3 separate regions of the Homo sapiens genome follow, and all the other regions are linked to region 2. The links are contacts of gene promoters, found by promoter capture Hi-C in blood cells and fetal thymus (Javierre and others, 2016). All regions are on one chromosome and are shown on one strand. The core of a region is centred on a gene start or on the middle of the fragment in contact, and the rest is flanking DNA. Distances in the headings are between cores, read along the strand shown. Region 1 has its middle 110 kb from the start of GNL3L. Region 2 holds the start of FAM120C (family with sequence similarity 120 member C). Region 3 overlaps GNL3L (G protein nucleolar 3 like).

Region 1 (2,700 bases), core at 163-2,662, 460 kb after region 2:
GCCTCTGGTAATCATCCTACTACTCTCTACCTCCACAAGATCAGTGTTTTCTTAACTCCCACGTATGAGTGAGAACATGTGATATTTGTTTTTCTGTGCCTGGCTTATTTCACTTAACATAATGTCATGCATGTTGTTATAAATGACAGGATTTCACTCTTTTTGTATGGCTGAATAATATTCAATTATGTATATATACCACATTTTCTTTATCAATTCATCCGTTGATGGACACTTAGGTTGATTCTGTGTCTTGACTATATTGAATAGTGCTACAATAAACATGGGAGTGCAGATATCTCTCCAATATACTGATTTCCTTTCTTTTGGATGTATACCTAGCACTGGGATTGCTGGATAATATGGCAGTTCTAGTTTTAGTTTTTTGAGGAATCTCCAAACTGTTTTCCATAGTGGCTGTACTACTTTCCATTCCCACTAACAGTGTACAAACATTCTCCTTTCTCAGCATCCTTGCCAGCATCCGTTATTTTTTGTCCTTTTGAGAAAAGCCATTTTAACTGCAGTGATTACAAATACTTTACCCACTCCAAAATTATGTATTAAAAATGATTCATCCATGTTGTCTGCTAGTACTTTTATGGTTTCAGTTTTACAGTTAAATCTTTGATCTATCTGGAATTTATTTTGGGGTAGGATTTAGGACAGGGATCTAGCTTCTTTTCCTTTCAAATGCTAAGTCTACTGTCTCTGTACCATCTATTGACTAATAATTATTGACTCATTGAATTGGAATGTCACCTTTATCAAATATGGAGTTTTCATATGTGCTTTTGTTTATTTCTGCACTATTTTATTCTATTGATCTGAATGTCTGTGCCTGCACCAGTGCCACCCCATTGTAATTAATGTAACTTCAAAATATATATCTTCATATCTGGTTGGGCAAAGCCTCTTTTGCTTCTTTTTCAGAAAATTTCTGCCTGTTTTCACATACTTATTCTTCCAGGTGAATCTTAGCACACATTGTGAAAGTAAAAATAATATAAAATTGCCTATTGACATTTTGACCGGGATTATATTGAATTTATAGGTTAATTTAGAGAAAATCATTGTCTTTTATAATATCGAATCTTCCTATTGGAGAGTAAGGTATGGATTTCTAGTTATTCAATTTTTTATGTTAGTAGAATTTTAAAGTTTTATTTTTATATGTTTTATGTGTTCCTTGTTAGGTTTATTCCTATTTTAGTTGCTATTGTGAAGGGGATATTTTTCCCTTATCTTTTTGAACTGGTTGTGGGAAAGCAATTACCAGTACGTCACTAAATCCTATTATTGTTTTTAATAGGTTTTCCATAAATTTCCTCAGGCTTTCAAGTTACACAGCTATGTCATCAACAAATAGAGATTATTTTGCTCCTATAATAGCTATCCCAAGTTTGTGCCTCATTTAATTATCTTGTCTAATTGTGTTATGTATTGCCTTCAGAATAGTAATAGTGGTGATAATGGGGCTTGCACCTTTTCTCTGACTTTAATGGAGAGTCTCACATTTCATTATTCAGCATGATACTGGTTTTCGGTTAGAAATATAGAGTATAAAAAGTATGTCAAGAAAGTATCCATTCCTAGATAACTAAATCAGAAATACATCTTGAATTTTGTTAAATTCATCTTTTGGGCATCCATTGAGATGACCGTGTGGGTTTTTTCATTTGACCTATTAGTACAATGAATTATGTGTATTTCCTAATATTGAATAACTCTTGCACTCTTAGAATGGACCCCACAGTTTTTACTTCTTCAATTTACTGCTGAATTCCATTTGTTAATATTTTATTTATTTTACATCAATATGTATAAGTGAGATTTGTCTGTGGCTTTCTTACATGTGAACTTTGTTCGGAGTCCATGCATTTCCCAAACTGTTTTTTGTAGTCCCTGACCATTCAAGGACTGAAGATGTGCCTATATTAAGGGAGGACTCCACTGAATGCCAGCCATCCATCCCTTCCATGTTTCTTTGCTGCATATTATCGTTTCTGAGACATTTTATATGCTCCTTGGATATCTATGGGAATAAACATCATTAATTGTAAATGTGGAGATGCTAGCACAGATTGTTTAATCCAAGTAGACTATTTAAACAAACTGCAGTGGAATTTACTGAGAAATGATAAATGATGGCTATTCTATTATTTTATGTTTGTTCTTTAAAAAATCAATATTGTTTATAAAGGTAATTATTACTTTGTATTAAGTGATTAATACAGTATTAAAGGCTCTTAATAAAAAAAGTCAGCCTCCATCCTATCATTCCACATACCCTATTCTTCTTTCCATGTCAACAAATGCAGTTCTAGCTGTTTCCCCTCATATTATGTCCATATTTCTATATAATGTGCATATATTGCTATTTATTTATTTTAAAATAATAGACTTCATATTTTAGAGCAGTTTAAGGTTTATAGAAAAAATGAATGGTGGCTGGGCATGGTGGTTCACGCCTGTAATCTTGGCACTTTGGGAGGCCGAGGCAGGCGGGTCACTTGAGGTCAGGAGTTCGAGACCAGCCTGGCCAACATGGAGAAACCCCATCTCTACTAAAAATACAAAAATTAGCCAGGCATGGTGGCACGCGCCTGTAGTCCCAGCTACTCGGGAGGCTGAGACAGGAGAATCGCTTGAACCCGGGAGGGGGAAGTTGCAGTGAGCTGAGATCACTGCACTCCAGCC
Region 2 (2,700 bases), core at 73-2,572:
TATGTGTTTAGGCTAAGGCAGGAGGAAGAAGATGCATGTTGAAATGAAAAAGGCTGAATGGACACAGATGGGTAAAAAAGCAGCAGTGGGTGAAGACGGAAAAACAATGTAGAAGAAAGGTGTTCAGTTCACACCTGCTTAAGTGATTTACTGCGAGGTTGGAAAGAGATACAGGAGAGAGATGTCAACTGGCAAAAGCAGGGTAAAGGCATTTCAGTTTGAGGCAGAAGACACCAGGAGAAAGATGAGGCTACAAAAGAAATTCTGACTAGATTCTGCTGAAACCTAGTGGTAGGCCAATTGGATAAGGGAAGCTAAAGGGAGCTACTGGGATGACATGAGTAGAGATATGGCCATGTAGGTGAGTGAATCCGTAGGGGGTGGTATGAAGGGGGAGGTAAATGGATAAAATGGTAGAGGGTAGTTAGGCAGGTAGGTTAGCTGTTGGGCGGGTAGGTGGGTGGGTAGATGGGAGGTAGGGTAGTGGGTAAGTGGGTAGGTGGTTAGGTATTTAGTTGGGAGGGAATAGGTGTGGGGCTTATTATTTAAGATCCGGCCCCTCCCTCACCTTGACCCGGAAGCGGATGAGTGCTAGCCTCACGCAGTGGCTCAGGCAGGCCGGTGGCAGGAACCAGGCCCGCGGTGGAGGGGTGCCCTTGTTGCCCACGTGTCCCACGATCAGTTGCGCTGTCTGCCGCTCGGCCTGGCACCGACGGCCCCACTCGGCCAGCCGGTCCTTGCCCAGGCCCCCCGGGAACATGACCACGAGCTCCAGGCCGTCGCCGCCAGGATAGGCACAAGCCTGGCACAGCGCTGACAAGTAGCCCAGCATGGCGTTCCATTGGCCGCCACACACCCAATCCGTCTGGTAGCCGCCATAGAGCCGCGGCAGCGCCGAGCCGGCGTCCACCAGCACCCGGGCCCCGGGCAGCTGAGGGGGCGGCGGCGGCGGCAGCGGAGGGTGCAGCCCGGGCTGCGCTTGGCCATGATGGTGGAAGTGGTGAGCGGGGTGATGGTGCCGAGTCGGCCCCGCGCCCCCGGAGTAGGCACCCAAGGCAGCGGGCGGAAGCGGCGGTTGCAGAGGCACGGAGCCCCTGGCGGCGCGTGGAGCCCCGGGCGCTAGGGCTGCAGTCGGCGGCAGCTGGCGGTGCAAGTGCTGCTGCTGCTGCTGGCGCGAGACCGTGCGCGCGAGTTTTAGGAGGTCCACGGGCACCACGGCCCCGGGACAGCGCTTCTCCAGGAACTCTTGGAAGCCCTGGACACCCATGCTTCGTCGGTGGGCAGACGCGATAGCGGCTGCGCAAGCAGGATAGGCGACGATCTGGGCGCGAAGCTGGGGGCGGGCGCGTGCGCACTCCGCGGGGGGCGAGGGGGGGCGGGAAAAGGATTCCCGAGGGGAGGGGTGAGGAAGCGAGGGAATGAGGGCGGGGAGGGGAGGAGACCACAAATTGGATTTGGGTAGAGAGAAGGGGAGGGGCAGACCGGACCCGGGAGAGGCTGGGAGGATAAAAGCGAGGATGGGCTCTAGTCACTTCTCTTTTTTCTCCTTTCCGGCCGCTCTTCTTCCCGCTTTAGAAGGGGTGAAGCCTCTTTCTTCCACCTCCGGGAGCCATGTTGCCTCGTCTTCTCGGTGGTACACGCTTTCTAGCTGGAGGAAGGGGAGCGAGGAGGGGCGGGGCGGGGCGGGGAGAGGGGCATCTTGGTAGTTGTAGTCTTCTCTATGGCCTTAGGATATAGTCGAGGAACCAGACTACCACCCTTCTCAGCCCTTGTGCTCACAGGGTCACAGGAAGCGGGGCGTGATGATGAGTGTTTAGGAGTTGCACTCCAACTCCTTGCATCTCACTGAGTTGCTTAGGTTATTTACTGCTTTTTCCTGGAAAAAGAGTTTTGGGGGATGGATTGATGCATCATGGGAATGGAAGTTAGAGTGGATTGACTGAATTCAGCTAAAGTGAGCTAAAACTCCCCAGGAGGGAGGATTTTCCCCTTAGTGGAAAGATAATATTTAAAGAGCTGTTGGTCCCAATTAAGAAAGACGTAACTGGTCGGGCGCGGTGGCTCACGCCTGTAATCCCTCCGAGGCGGGCAGATCACGAGGTTAGGAGATCGAGACCATCCTGGCCAACATGGTGAAACCCCGTCTCTACTAAAAATACAAAAAGTAGCCGGGCGTGGTGGCACGTGCCTGTAATCCCAGCTACTGGGGAAGCTGAGGCAGGAGAATCGCTTGAACCTGGGAGGCGGAGGTTGCAGTGAGCCAAAATCATGTCACCGTACTCCAGCCTGGTGACAGAGCCAGACTCCGTCTCAAAAATAAATAAATAAATAAAAAGAAACTTACATTATTTACTTGCCTAAGGCAATGCAGAGACAAAGTTAAATCGAATATCCTTGCCCTCAGCATCTCTTTGGGCAGGGAGATAATTACCAACACAAATTACATTACAAATTGTACCTTTTTGGTACTCCTAGATCCACTATGTCCTATGGTTAGGGCCTTTGGTTTCCAAACTTCATTGTGTTTTAGTCTGTCGGGAGCTTTTCTAAATAGCTGCAAGGGCTCTAATTTCAGATGTATGGAGTCATAATCTTTTGAAAAATGTATTTTCAACATACTGAGATGAAACAGATGCAGTGCCTGTCTTCTTTCTGGCTTTTAGGGCCGGCCCACTCTTTCAGCAGGAATAAAGCAGAAAA
Region 3 (2,700 bases), core at 33-2,532, 350 kb after region 2:
TTGGGATTACAGGTGCCTGCCACCATGCCCAGCTAATTTTTGTATTTTTAGTGGAGACAGGGTTTCACCATGTTGGCCAGGCTGGTCTCGAACTCCTGACCTAGTGATCCGCCCACCTCAGCCTCCCAAAGTGCTGGGATTACAGGTGTGAGCCACCGTGCACGGCTCTCTACCATCTTATTTTATATTTATTATTTATTTTGTTTCCTCTTATTCCCTTATTTATGTTTTGCTAACTTGATGAAGTTTTTAAACAATCCTCCATCGGTAATTAAGTTATGTTGGTAATTGTATTCATATTTATATCAAACATAATTAATTCTGTATTTATCACTTTACCAAAGTTAAATAATGACTATTTTGTAACCTACCCTTTCAAAATGAAACCTTTAGCATGCTTTCATGCTTTTGCTTTTCCAACCCCCATTACTTGATTCCTGGATTTTATTGAAATAATTTGGTATTTCAGTTCTGAGCTATTTCCTTATGATATGCTTCTTCGATTTTAAGAATCCTTTTTTTGTTGTTTTTTTGAGACAGGGTCTCACTCTGTCGGCCAGGCTAGAGTGCAGGTGTGATCATGGCTCACCACAACCTCCGCCTCCTGGGCTCAAGTGATCTTCCTGCCTCAGCCTCCTGAGTAGCTGGGACAACAAACATGTGCCATCACACCTGGCTAATTTTTTTTTTTTTTTGAGACAAGAGTCTTGCTGTGTTGCCCAGGCTGGAGTGCAGTGGTGCGATCTTGGCTCACTGCAACCTCCACCTCCTGGGTTCAAGCAATTTTCCTGCCTCAGCCTCTCGAGTAGCTGGGATTACAGGTGCGTGCCAACACGCCCGGCTAATTTTTGTATTTTTAGTAGAGACGGGGTTTCACCATGTTGGGCAGGCTGGTCTCAAACTCCTGACCTCAAGTCAGGCATCCGGCTAATTTTTGTATTTTTAGTAGAGACGGGGTTTCACCATGTTGGGCAGGCTGGTCTCAAACTCCTAATTTTTGTATTTTTAGTAGAGATGGGGTTTCACCATGTTGGCCAGGCTGGTCTTGAACTTCTGACCTCAAGTGATCCACCCGCCTTGGCCTCCCAAAGTGCAGGGATTATAGCTGTGAGCCATCGCTCCTGGCCTCAGTGATAAGTTTTAGTAGATTTCCGTAGATTTCCTGCCCACCACTGTTTGTTTCCTTTAGCTTGGGATCTTTATTCTGATTTAATTTTTATTTTGCCAGTAGTTTTATCCAAAAGGAAACACAGGGCCAGGCGTGGTGGCTCATGCCTGTAATCCCAGCACTTTGGGAGGCCAAGGCGAGCCAATGACTTGAGGCCAGGAGTTTGAGACCAGCCTGGCCAACATGGCGAAACCCCGTCTCTACTAAAAATAAAAAAATTAGCCAGGCACAGTGGTGCACGCCTGTAATCCCAGCTACTCCAGAGGCTGAGGCAGGAGATTTCCTTGAACCTGGGAGGTGGAGGTTGTAGTGAGCTCAGGTGGCACCACTGCACTCCAGCCTGGGCAACAGAGCGAGACTTTGTCTCAAAAAAAAAAAAAAACAGAGAGAGAGAGGGAGGGAGGGAGGGAGAGACGAAAGAAAGGAAGGAAGGAAAGGAAAGAAAGGAAAGAAAGAAAGGCAAGTGGTAATCTTTGCTCACCTGAAAATGTCTTTTTCTTACTTTCACAAAGTAAGAGTGATCTGTTGGTTAGAATTTTATCTCTTTATCTTTAGAGTTCAGAAATTTCATCAGGATATGTCCAGGGTATGTCTTTTTGGTTGTTAATCTTTTTTTTTTTTTTTTTTGAGACAGGGTCTCTGTTGTCCAGGCTGGAGTGCAATGGTGCCATCATAGCTCATTATAACTTTGAATTCCTGGGATCAACCAGTCCTCCCGCCTCAGCTTCCTGAGAGCTAGGACTACAGGTGCATGCCGCCACACCTGGTTAATTAAACTTTTTTTTTTATATAGACAAGGTCTCACTATGTTGCCTGGATTAGTCGCAAACTCCTAGTGTCAAGCGATCCTCCCACCTCAGCCTCCCAAAATGCTGGGATGACAGGGTGAGCCATGGCACCCGGCCTTGGTTGTTAATCTTGCTGCTGCCTGTGTCTTTCCAGTCTGAAACCTCAAGCCTATGTTCAACTTAAGGAACTTTCGTCTGTTATTCAGAAAATTATTGCTTCTCCATTTGTACCCTTTTCTCTTTCAGGAACTCCTGTTTAGATTTTAGCTGTCTTGGCTCTATTGTCCATTTTTTCTTTTATATTTTTGCTCATCATTTCAATTTCTTTGAATTTTTGCTCTAAGTAAGCCCCTCCTTTGGTCTTCTAGCTTATTAATTTGGTTGTTAGTGATGTCTTTTTTGTTTTTCACTATTTCTATTGAATTTTTTTAAGAGACAGAGTCTCACTATGTTGCCTAGGCTGTTCTCGAACTCCTAGGGTCAAGTGATCCTCTTGCCTCAGCCTCCCAGCTAGCAACAGGCAGGTGCTACTGTGCCCAGCTTAAGTTTTGACTGTTAAAGCAGTCTGTGTTTGTGTATTTTTTTAAGAGATGGGGTCTTGCTTTGTTGCCCAGGCTGGATTAGAACTCCTGGGCTCAAGGGATCCTCCTACCTTAACCTCTCATGTAGCTGGGGCTACAAGCATGCACCACGGCACCCAGCTTTTGAATTTTTATTCAGTGTCAAGTTTTGGAAAATCTTTTT

Evidence for each region. Contacts are between HindIII fragments. The CHiCAGO score rates a contact against its expected background, and 5 or more counts as called.
Region 1: a contact is called between a fragment that was not itself captured here and the fragment with the promoter of FAM120C in region 2, in 2 of 17 cell types (total B cells and total CD4 T cells). The highest score is 6.3, in total B cells.
Region 3: a fragment that was not itself captured here is called in contact with the fragment with the promoter of FAM120C in region 2 in 1 of 17 cell types (monocytes); the score reaches 5.3 in monocytes.

Annotation. Positions count from the first base shown.
Region 1 is chrX:54,643,791-54,646,490 of GRCh38, forward strand. It overlaps a transcript of GNL3L not described here. Among named protein-coding and RNA genes, the nearest start is that of GNL3L, 110 kb to the left of the region's middle. The HindIII fragment of the contact is 5,734 bases long and covers 1-2,700 here.
Region 2 is chrX:54,181,932-54,184,631 of GRCh38, forward strand. It overlaps FAM120C (family with sequence similarity 120 member C), which reads right to left and starts at 1,323. Exons shown (of 16, transcript NM_017848.6): 1 at 569-1,323. The coding sequence starts at 1,267. RefSeq lists silencers at 816-865, 876-1,085, 1,656-1,755. The HindIII fragment of the contact is 3,156 bases long and covers 1-2,700 here.
Region 3 is chrX:54,535,250-54,537,949 of GRCh38, forward strand. The region is part of intron 2 of GNL3L (G protein nucleolar 3 like); the gene reads left to right. Among named protein-coding and RNA genes, the nearest start is that of GNL3L, 6.4 kb to the left of the region's middle. The HindIII fragment of the contact is 6,851 bases long and covers 1-2,700 here.